Regions from separate parts of the Homo sapiens genome. Here regions 2, 3 and 4 are each linked to region 1. The links are contacts of gene promoters, found by promoter capture Hi-C in blood cells and fetal thymus (Javierre and others, 2016). All regions are on one chromosome and are shown on one strand. The core of a region is centred on a gene start or on the middle of the fragment in contact, and the rest is flanking DNA. Distances in the headings are between cores, read along the strand shown. Region 1 holds the start of RNF144A (ring finger protein 144A). Region 2 overlaps CPSF3 (cleavage and polyadenylation specific factor 3). Region 3 overlaps LOC124907728 (a long non-coding RNA gene). Region 4 overlaps MBOAT2 (membrane bound glycerophospholipid O-acyltransferase 2).

Region 1 (2,781 bases), core at 1-2,500:
CTCCCGAGTAGCTGGGACTACAGGCGCCCGCCACTGCGCCCGGCTAATTTTTTGTATTTTTAGTAGAGAGGGGGTTTCACCGTGGTCTCGATCTCCTGACCTCGTGATCCGCCCGCCTCAGCCTCCCAAAGTGCTGGGATTACAGGCGTGAGCCACCGCGCCCGGCCAGTTCAATGGATTTTAAAAATTATTATTCTCTAGAAAAAAGACCACGAACTTTGGAGTGGACATCCTGAGACCTGCCTACGAAGACCATTAGGGTAAAGAAGTCACCCCTTCACCCCAGGACCAGGAAGCCTCCAGGATGGCATAAGCGACCAAACAGCTGGGAGCCAAGCACAGTGCAGGGGGCTTGGGGTCGGCGGCCGGAGGCTGGGGTGGGTAAGACCCGCAGGGAACTCCGGGGCTCGGGCGGCGGCTCATTCCCCGGGAAAGGGCTCGCGGTGGGGACCAGGGGCAGTAGCAGCCGCGGACCCCGCGCGCAGGGGATGTGCGGGGCATCCTCTTGGCCAGTTCCGACCTTCCCCGCCGGTGGCGATGCCCCGGACGCGTCGTCCTTTCCCAGACCTCCTCTTGGGGCCGAGGCTCCAGCCCCAGGGTCTGCGGGCGGGGCCGCGAACCTTGAAAGCCCCCGCCGCCAGCTCGCCCGCGGGACCCTGGCCCGGGGCGCCCTGTCCCGCGCCGCAGCGCAGACCCGCGACCGCGCAGGGCAGGCAGGGGGACGCCAGGTCCCTAAGCGCCCACTGCCCTGGGGCGCGGGCGCCGCCTGCGAGAGGCAGGGCAGGGCAGGAGCAGAGCAGGGACGAGGTCAGGGACACGGGCAGGGCAGGGCGGGCGTCCTCTGAACGGAGCCCGCGAGTCCCCGCCCGGGACGCTGCCCCCCGCCCGCTGCCACCGGGCGCCGGGGCAGGACCCAGCGGGGCAGGCGCGGCCGCAAGCCCCGAGCCCCAAGGCCGGCCGCGCAGCGCCGCGTCCCGCCCTCCCCGCTCCGCGGCCGGCCCGGGCGATGCGGACACAAAGGGGACGCGCGTCACTCTACCTGGGCCTGCTCGTCCGCGGTGCGCGGCTCTGACGCCTCCGCCCGGTACTGGCTGCGGGGTGCCGGGTGCCCGCAGTTTGCCGCCCGCGCCTCCCCGCGCCCGCGCAGCCCGCACGGCCCGCACTGCAATGCCAGCCCTGCCGCCTCCCGCCTGCCGAGAGCCCGCGCGGGGAGAAGCGGCTGCGCGGGCGGGGCGCGAGCGCGCACAGAGGCCGGGCACGCGGGAGGCTCGGCCCCGGCCCCGCCCCCGCGCCGAGCCGCACAGCGCCCCCTGCCGCCCGCCTGCGCCGGCCCGAGGCCCGGAGCCGCCCCGCAGGCCCCAGGACAGGCTCCGGCACGAGGAGGGGCTGCGGAGACCGCCCGTGCACGCTAACATGAAAATGCTATTCCTGCTTTAGTGGCCTCCAGAAGACACTCCCCTGATTCCTACACCGAGGGAACACACAGCAGCAAGCTAGGAAAGAAGGGGTGACCCAGCCCAACGCTGTAAACCAGGGCGCGAACCGGCGTTGAGCTGTGCAGCTGCGCCCTGGGCTCCAGTCCTGCTCTGCCGCAGACCCCACCGGAGCCAGCACCTGCCTCCCCGACCCTCGCTGGGGCGGCTGTGAGATGAGCCCAGAGCCTTCCTGAGCCAACCCTCGCAAGGAAAGTCTGTCTGTTCACCCCACTATCCTTGTCTTGAAGGATGAAGAAAAGAGGGCCCCCCGGGAGGTCCCAAAAGGTGGAATGGACATCTGGGATCCAAGCACAGCAATTTCTTTATTTTTCTTAAGGTATCCAGCTTGTTGGAATCTAAGATCTGCGAAGGTATTAATAGAATTCCTGCATCTTCTGCCACTCCCCATAGAAGCTTGAAGTTACACAAATGTTAAATTATACGTCAGATGTGCATATATGAACAAAACCTACGAGTGTGCATGAAATAACACCTTCTTAAATATATAGATTCTTTTTTCTGCAATATTAAATGGAAACCCCACTAGAACATCGTTTTTCCTTAATAGCATACCCTCCACACTGTGTGGTCTAAATTCAAGCTCTACCACCTACTAGCCATTAAGCAAGTTATTAAGGTCTTCGTGCTTCCATTTTCTTACGTGGAAAATGAGGTGGCAATAGTATGTATGAGTTCTTCGGAGGGATTAAACAAGTCAAATAGGCCAAGTGCCATGGCTTACACCTGTAAGCCCAGCACTTTGGGAGGCCAAGGCAGGAGGACTGCTTGAGCCCAGGAGGTCAAGGCTGAAGTGAGCTGTGTTTGCATCACTGCACTCCAGCCTGGGCAGCAGAGTGAGACTTTGTCTCTCAATAAATAAAGAAATAGTCAAATTAAATATAACTGGCAAACTAAAACAACTCCATAGTCCTTAGCTACAATTTGTCTCATTTCTCCAAAGAATTAAATCAGATGATTCTTAACTAACTCAAAGCTCTGCATAATTTGTCTTCTGCTACACATACATCTTTATAGTAAAATAAAATAAAGCTGTCCCCTCTGTATTGAGAAGTTATTCTGGTAAATATTTGACCTCTTCAAATATATGAACGAGCACTTGCCTTCTAATGCCTCAGTTTCAGATTCTTTTTAGAAATGTCATTATTCAAGAAAAATGCACAATGGGAAGAATCTTAACAACAGCACTTTGTTACTTCAGCCTCTCACTAGAGGATGAAAATCGTTCTGCATAAAGGCCTGGGCTTTATGAAAAATATATTCACACCTCCCGTGTCCGAGCTGGGAT
Region 2 (2,781 bases), core at 197-2,696, 2.5 Mb before region 1:
TTAAATGTTGATATTCCGAGGGTTTGCTCCTTGGCCAACTTCTCAATCTTCATTCTCATCTTTCTGACATGCTAAGGACTTCCAAGCCTGTATTTGTAACCCAGATTGTTCTTCTGAATTCTAGACCTTTAATACATACACGTGACACTAGGTATCTCTACTAGGATCTCTCCCGGGACTTCATATTCAAGATGCCAAACTAGTTTCCACCACATGCCCCGTACTTGCTCTACTTTCTTCCTGAAATGCTTTGTCTTCAGATATTGATGTGGTTGGCTCCTTTGTATCATTTGGGTCTCAGTTCCAACGTCACCTTCTCAGATGCTTTCCCTTGACTACCTCCTCTAATTTGCCCTTCACAGCAAGCCACAACCCAGCATCAGTTATCTTAATACAACTACATGAAGTTATTGTACCTACTTATGTCTTCTTTCAGGCTACTAAATGAAAGCTTCCTAAGAACAGAGGCATTGTCCATCTTATTCACTGCTGTATTGCTACAGTACCTGGCATGTAGCACATCACAAAAAATACTTATTGAATGAACAAAACTCCTCAATTTTGAACCTTGGAAAGATTATGCTAAATGAAAGATGCCAGAGACAAAAGAGTATGTATTGTATGATCACACTTACATGAAATGTCCAGAACAGGCAAATCTATAAAGAAGTAGATTAGTGGTTGCTTAGGGCTGGAGAGGTAGTGGGGATTGTCTATGACTGCTAATGAATACAAGGTATCTCTTGGGAGTGATGAAAATGTGCTGGAATTAGAGAGAGGTGATGGTTGTATAACTCTATGTTAAGAACGACTGAATTATACTCTTTAAATGAGTTGTATGGTATGTAAATTGTGAGTTGTATGGTATGTAAACTGTATCTCAATAAAGCTGTTACGAAACAACCAAATTCCCAAATTTACTCCAGAGTTGCCCCATCTCTTATACTCCTTGAGTGAATAACACTACCCTTTCCCAACTGCCAAACTTAGGAATCTGATCATAACATCCTCTCTGCCCTGCCTTCCCTCCCCACAACCACCCTTCCAGATACAGCTGATCAGCCACAAAATCCTGAAGATCTCATTTGCATACTCTCTCACACTCACATCACTCACTACAGGCTCTCGTCAGCTAGACTTAGAATCTTTCAATATCTCACTGAATCTGCTCTACTCAATCCATGCTTTTATTCATCCATGCTTTTATTCATCTGCTACACTGCTGCCAGGAGAGATTTTCCTAAAACATAATTCCCACAATATCCATGCTTGCTTAATAGCCTTCGCTGGCTCCCTGTAATTGACTTGATAAAGGTCCAAACTCCTGTGTATACGAGGTGCTTCCTAAACTGGACCTCAACTGCCTGTCGCTTCATCTGCTAACTCAACTCTTTAGCTACAGCCATGAGGAATCTGGCCACAAGCTGTGACCACTCTCACTTTCATATGTGCCACTTCCACTGCCTAGAACATCCTGGGCCCCCCAGTCTTTAACTCCTACTCATTCTTTAGGACTCAGCTCAGGCATCACATTTTTCAGGATCCACGAGGTATCCTTTTTTCCTCAATCTGTCAGAAATCCCTTTTCCATACTTTCACAGTGCTCAGTGCAATGCCTGCCTGCGTTCTTAGATTAGCTATTATTTACAAAGCACCTACCGCGATGTTCACTCTTCAAGTTTTATCTTATTTCCATATGAGAAAACGGGTTCAGTGAGATTGTTGTCCTACTAATTGGTCAAGTAGATAATGGACTTCAGGTCTGACTTCAAAGTAATAGTCTCCTATTATTCCAAAGTATCTCTCCAATATTTCCCACTGTGCACTGTAATTCTCTCCAAAAGAGCGAGAGCAATTAACTGGGCCCTCTGTTGCGTCTATATCCCCATGTGTGGTGCTTGACACTTGCTCAGTGTTTGCTCATCACAGGAAGACATGACAGGTGTGAACTAAGCAGAAGGAAACGGACTATGTCCCAAGCAGGTGCTCAATGAAGCCTTACTGAATGATTGTGTAAAGGAGATACTTTCTACCTTTTGGAAAGCGTATATTCATGTTGTGCCAACTAGTATCTAACAATAAACATGTTGTGGGTTCGAAATGCTCATCTGTAGGAATTCAAGTTCTCTACATTTGCATCTCCCCTTCAGCAGCATTCCCGACTGATGAGGATCGTGTCCACTGAAAGGCCACTCTCCTTATGGACAGTCGAGGGCTGAGTTTTTGTCCCTAACACCTCTGCACTTTCTCTTCTCCAGCTTTACACCTTCCTTATTCTACTAGGGCCTGAGCTGAGAAGATCGAAACTCACGGCAAGTCCCTAATATTTTCTAACTTCTGGCACATGTGAAGCCCTGGTGTTAAGAAACAGACTTAATTCTTCCCTGCACGGCTGTAGCCTCATTCAGGTCCTCCTCTCATCCTGTCGGTCATAAGCTTCACCGGCTCCCTCACAGCTTGCCCTGACGCGCAGAGATCCGTGCTTGTGCTAAGTGAAAACGCTTCTTAGCGTGTACGAAAGCGAGCGGTGGCCCCGTAAAACTTTTTTTTTTCCGACTCCAACATACCCTCCCCTGAAACTGATGAAAAAGCAAAATCCCGTTCACTCTATAGCAGGCCCCTTCCGATCAACGGTCCTCCAACCCCTCGAGCCTGAGAAGCCTGGCCCGCAAGCGCGGACCAAAGGCAGGCTGCCGGGGTAGGTGGGAGCGCGGGCGACGGAGGAGGCCAGTCTCCGGTTACCCCTCGCGCCCCTCACAGCCCGTGGCTTCATTCCCTCTC
Region 3 (2,781 bases), core at 85-2,584, 2.1 Mb before region 1:
TTATCCAGAGTCATCCATCCTGGAGAGCAAGTTCTTTGGCAAGAGAACCAGGTTAGATGTGGTAACCCCAGACATGATGGGAAGAGATGACTCTCATTTCTAATTTTTCACTGGCTAGAACTCTGACATTAGTTAGGACACTGGTATTGTAATCTGTGGACCAAAACCCAGCATCTATAAAATGACAATAAGGGAGGAAGGGTTTAGGCATAAAATACCCATAACAAAATATGCAGTTTGACACATTTACTTCTAAAGAGGGAATTCTGCTGAAAGTGATAGGCTGCTGGGGACTACACAAAACTCTTCAGCAGGCTGGAGAATAACTTACAGCTTTCTCTTTGTCACAGAGCTGGCAGCAGAAGAGGGTGGGTGTAACTCCTCCCCTAGTAGCCAGACTACACTGTTTAGCAGAACAGTGATATGTCAACATGTATCAGAAGGGCAACTCTTCTTACAATTATAGATAAACAGAAAGAACCTGGAATATTAGGCGAACTGAGAAAATGAGGCCTTCTTCCCCAGTGCAGTGACCCCAGCAGATGCAATAAATGCTGCTAGTGGTGACGGTGATTATGATGAACCCTGGGGAGGCTACAGCAATTTATATTTAAGGTGTTTCATAATTTGGACACAAAAACTATTATGCAGATATGCAAAAGCATGAAAAAGCTTGAACTTTATTTTTCTGTACCTAGGAATCAGGGGTTGGAGGCTGCATGCTCATGTTGTAATAAATAAGCATGAAAGGGGTGTTCTTTGTATTGAGATTTGACTCAATCATATAAAGATAAAAATGCCAAATAAATCTATGAGGAAAATAAAATGTTTCCCAAGATGCGCAGATATAAAACAGAAATCTTTGCAGTCCACCAAGAAATAATAGGCATTTTTAAGGAGAAAGACTGATTAGAGACGTAATACATTTGAGGTAGTCCTGGAACCTGTGGAATAATTAGAAAGCAGTGCTATTCCCAAACTGATGAGTAATAGTTTCATTTGCATCTTTTAGCCTAATTTAAACCTAGACTGTGGTCTCACAGAGACAGAGAAAGTCCCAAAAATTCTTGGGAATCATTTAATTTTAGAGGAAGAGGTGACAATTGAAATCATTTATTTAACAAATCTCTTAACATGTTCCCAATGAAATTGAAGATGAGTGATTTGTTTGCTGGTACAGTCCACGTCCGTGGTGGAGCCAGAATACAGTGGAGCCAGGACTTCTCCTACTGTGTTTGCTACCTCTTGTTCAGCCTACTTTGTGATTTCCTAATTGAACTATGTTAGGTCTTAAAGGGTGACATTCTCGTTCCATTTTCTAGTCTCAGGCTAAGGTTAGCTTGCAAGTGCTTAAAGATGCCCCTCTAGTTAACTTGGGTTGTTATTATGTGTATGGTTCAATGTTCTTCATCCATCAAAATTATTCCAGGGTATAGGAACATAGAATAGGCAAAATAATTGCCTGAGAGATGGAATTTCATGGCACATACTATTTTTACAAAACAAAAGCAGCTTGGCAGATTATTCATTTCTTCCCAGTGGTTTCTTCAATGTTAAAAATAAGTTGGGAAGGAAACATCTCATTTTAGCAATCTTTAATGATCACAGCGATTTTAGGAGGCGAGGGCAATGAACCCAGGACAAGAGCACTGCCGCACTGCCATCTTACCACACGTGGATGCTGCCTGGTGCTCCTGTGCCTTTGTCTAAGTAACTCTTGTTAACAATGTGGCTGCTATATTGAAATCCCTTTACTACTAGTTATTATTTCTCAGACTAACAGTACTAGTAACTTTAAAAATAATTGAGTCTATGATTAAGTTCATGCTCATAGTCACAACACTCCTATGAGGTAGGATGAACAGTTACCATTATTCATATTTAACAATGGGAAACTTAAGGCACAGAGAAGCTAAGCCAATTTCTAAAGTTCATAGCTATCTGGTGGAAAAGTTAGGGTTAAAATTCAGGTCTTTTAACTTCAAGCTAAGCTTCTTTCTTACAGACATATTCCTTTGATTTTAACATTAAAAAAAGAAACTTCCTTGATACTTTTCTTGTAACATGTGAATTTGTGAATACGACTGTTTTCTTCTTTTGATTACAGGCATCATTTATCCTTTACGTCACCCCACATAGCTCCTTGAACATAGTAAGTGGTCAATAAATGTTTTAACACAAGAATTGCTCTTTATAGGATGGATGTTACCCAAGGTAGGGCAGTGAGGCATTATATACAATTAGTTTAATTCTTTTCTCTTTTGTCTCCACTGAAGAGCTTCTGGTATAATTAGCAGATACTGGTCAGGCTAATTGTATGGCCTGCACACAGTTTATGCTACCATCAATGAGTTATCAGCTTAAAATGCCAGCTTCAATTCTTCATTAAAAACATGAAGAGGTAGTATATTTAATACGAAACAAATGGTTTCCATTTTCAGAATTATACTAAATTTCTTGGATTAATATTATGTGTCAGCTTGACTGGGCTAAAAGGTGCCCAGATAGAGCTATTGAAACATTATTTCTCAATGTGTATTTGAGCATGTTTCCTGCAGAGATCAGCATTCGAATTGGTACATTGAGTAAAGATTTTCTCACCCACGTACCCCGGCGTCATCACATCTGCTGAGGGCCCAAATAGAACAAAAAGGTGGAGGAAGGGTGAATTCACTCTGAACAGGGACATCCATCATCTCCTGCCCTCGGATATCATTGCTCCTGGTTCTCAGGCTTTTGGACATAAACTGAACTACACTGTTGGCTCCTGTGTTTCTCAGG
Region 4 (2,781 bases), core at 159-2,658, 2.0 Mb before region 1:
ATTCCTAGAGCAATCACTAAATAAATAAAAAGTATACATTGAAAGAATCAACAGAGGAATTAAAATAGTTCACTACCAAATATTTGTTTAATACAAAAGAAGGCACTAAAGGAGGAACAAAAAAGGCCTGAGACATAGCTAAAACAAATAGCAAAATGGCAGGTTAAATCTGACCGTATAAATACTTACAGTAAATGCCAGTGAAAAGTCAGAAGTTGTCAGACTGGATTAAAAAAAATCTAACTATATGTTGTCTACCAGTAAAACACATTAAAGACATGAGTAGGCTGAAGGTAAAAGAGTGGAAAAGATGTAAGCCATGCAAACAGAAACCAGATGAGTGTTGGAATAGCCACAGAAAAAGACTGAGGACTAATAAATGAGGCTGGCAAGGTTGCAGTTTATAAGACCAGTGTACAAAATCAGTTATATTTCTATATACTACAAATTGAGAATCCAGAAATGCAGGTATAAAAACAATTCCATTCACAGCAGCATCAAAAAGAATAAAATACTTAGAAATAAATCTAATAAAAGAATTGCAGTTGCACTTGAAAACTGTAAAACATTCCTGAGAGAAGATTAAATGGAGAAGTATTTTATATTTATGAGTTGGAAGACTTTACATTGTTAAGATGGCATTTCTTCACAAATTCATCTATAGATTTAATGCAATTCCTAACAGAAACACTGGCAGTTTTTTTTTTTGGTAGAAATTGATAAGCTTTTCCTAAAAGTTATATGGAAATACTAAGGACCTTAAGTAACCAAGATAATTTTGAAAAAGTATAACAGAGTTTGAAGATTTACACTCCTGTGTTTCAAAACTCATGCTACTGTGATCAAGACACTGTGCTATTGGCATAAGGATAGACATATAAATCATTGCAACAAAATTGAGAGTTCAGAAATAAACCTTTATGGTCAGTTGATTTTTGACAAAAGTGCCAAGGCAGTTGGGAAAGGATAGTTTTTTCAATACACAGTGCTGGGACAATCAGGTTTCTATATGCACAGAAATGAACCTGACCCTTACCTCACATCATACATAAAAATCAACTCAAAATGCCTCTTAGTCCTCAATGTAGCAGCTAAACCTATAAAACTTCAGAAGACAACACAGGAGAAATTCTCTGTGACTTGTGATTGGGCAAAGACTTCTTAGATATGACAACCAAATAATTGCCCATAAAGAAAAAAATTGTCTGAGTGTGATAGCACACGCCTGTAACCCCAGCACTTTGGGAGGCCGAGGGAAGAGGATTGCTTGAGGCCAGGAGTTTGAGACCAGCCTGGGCAACATAGTGAGACACCATCTTTTAAAAAAAGTTGTTTATAAGTAGAAAAGTACCCCAGTGTGGTGGCGCACACCTGTAGTCCTAGCTGCTTGGGAGGCTAAGGCAGGGAGATCACTTGAACCCAGGAGTCCAAGGTACATTGAGTTATGATTGTACCACTGTGCTCCAGCCTGGGAAACAGCGAGAACCTGTCTCAAAACAAAAAATTAAAAATGAATCATAATAAAATAAAAAAATTGAATACTCGTATTTCAGAATTTAAAACTTTTACTATTCAAAAGACACCTTTAAGGAAATGAAGAGATAAGCCACAGGAGAAAAATACTTGCAAAACATGTGTCTGATACAGGACTTGGATCCAGAAGATGTACAGAACTCGTACAATCAATACTAAGAAGACAACCCAATTTAAAGATGGACAGAATTGCTAGTTACACATTTCATGGCCAATATGCAAATTAAAAGATGCTCAAGATCACTAGCCATTAGCGAATTGCAAATTAAAACTACAATAAAATTAAAACTATTTTATATAATAACAACTATATATCCACTAGAATGGATGTAATTTAAAAGACTGACAATACCCAGCATTAGTGAGGATATGAAGAAACTAGAATCTTCATACGTTGCTTACAGGAACATAAAAATTGTAGTCACTTTGGAAAACATTTTGGTTGAAAGTTAAACATTAACTTACCATATGCCCTGAAAATTCTGTTGTTAGGTTTCTACCCAGGGTGAAAACGTATGTCCACATAGAGTAGCACTATTCATAATAGCTAAAAGCTTCAAACAGCCCAAATATTCACCGGCTGGTGAAAGGATAAACGAAATGTGGCATGTCCATACAATGGAATACCATTCGGCAGTTTACAAAGGAACAAACTGCTGATATATGCTGCAACATGGAGGAACCTCAAGAGCACGGTAAGTGGAAGAAGCCAGATACAAAAGACTACATATTGTTTTATTTTATTTACATGAGACTCCCAGAAAAGACAGATCTAGAGACAGAAAATGATCGGTGGTTGCCTAGGGTTGAGGGTACAATTAGGGATTACTGCAAGTAACCACAAGGGAACTCTTGGGGCAGCGGTCTTGCAGTGATGGTCACACAACTCTACACATTTACTAAAAATTGTTGAATTATACACTTACAATAAGTAAATTTCATGGTGTGTGAATTATACCTCAATAAAGCTGTTTAATAAAAAGGCTATTTGAGCGAGGCTTGCAAGCCTTTTAGGCCTGGAGCAGTAACAGCTCCTTAATTCACTGTTCCTTCTGCCTTTCTGATAGGAACTATAATTCAGGTTAAACAAATATGGGCACACCTGTTCTATTGCACTCCATTTTATTTTATTGCACTCCATTTATTTATTGCACCATAGATACTGCCTTTTTTCTTTTTATTAAACAAACAGAAAGTTTGTGGCATCCCTGCACCCAGCAAATCCATCAGTGCTGGTTTCCAGTAACA

The links. The method cuts DNA at HindIII sites, captures the fragments that hold promoters and counts their contacts. A CHiCAGO score of 5 or more calls a contact.
Region 2: a fragment that was not itself captured here is called in contact with the fragment with the promoter of RNF144A in region 1 in 2 of 17 cell types (fetal thymus and non-activated CD4 T cells); the score reaches 8.7 in fetal thymus.
Region 3: a contact is called between a fragment that was not itself captured here and the fragment with the promoter of RNF144A in region 1, in 3 of 17 cell types (fetal thymus, activated CD4 T cells and erythroblasts). The highest score is 7.5, in fetal thymus.
Region 4: a contact is called between a fragment that was not itself captured here and the fragment with the promoter of RNF144A in region 1, in 1 of 17 cell types (erythroblasts). The highest score is 10.0, in erythroblasts.

Annotation. Positions count from the first base shown.
Region 1 is chr2:6,915,881-6,918,661 of GRCh38, reverse strand. It overlaps RNF144A (ring finger protein 144A), which reads right to left and starts at 1,250. Exons shown (of 9, transcript NM_014746.6): 1 at 1,040-1,250. GRASLND (glycosaminoglycan regulatory associated long non-coding RNA) reads left to right here. Exons shown (of 5, transcript NR_033997.1): 1 at 1-260; 2 at 1,438-1,812; 3 at 2,695-2,781. RefSeq lists a silencer at 921-1,410. The HindIII fragment of the contact is 2,406 bases long and covers 1-1,891 here.
Region 2 is chr2:9,423,839-9,426,619 of GRCh38, reverse strand. All of the region lies in intron 1 of CPSF3 (cleavage and polyadenylation specific factor 3), which reads right to left. Among named protein-coding and RNA genes, the nearest start is that of CPSF3, 1.6 kb to the right of the region's middle. RefSeq lists an enhancer at 2,730-2,779. The HindIII fragment of the contact is 1,985 bases long and covers 454-2,438 here.
Region 3 is chr2:9,006,737-9,009,517 of GRCh38, reverse strand. It overlaps LOC124907728 (a long non-coding RNA gene), which reads right to left. Exons shown (of 2, transcript XR_007086199.1): 2 at 655-2,781. Among named protein-coding and RNA genes, the nearest start is that of MBOAT2, 4.4 kb to the right of the region's middle. The HindIII fragment of the contact is 1,319 bases long and covers 675-1,993 here.
Region 4 is chr2:8,918,488-8,921,268 of GRCh38, reverse strand. The region is part of intron 3 of MBOAT2 (membrane bound glycerophospholipid O-acyltransferase 2); the gene reads left to right. Among named protein-coding and RNA genes, the nearest start is that of KIDINS220, 82 kb to the right of the region's middle. The HindIII fragment of the contact is 1,363 bases long and covers 727-2,089 here.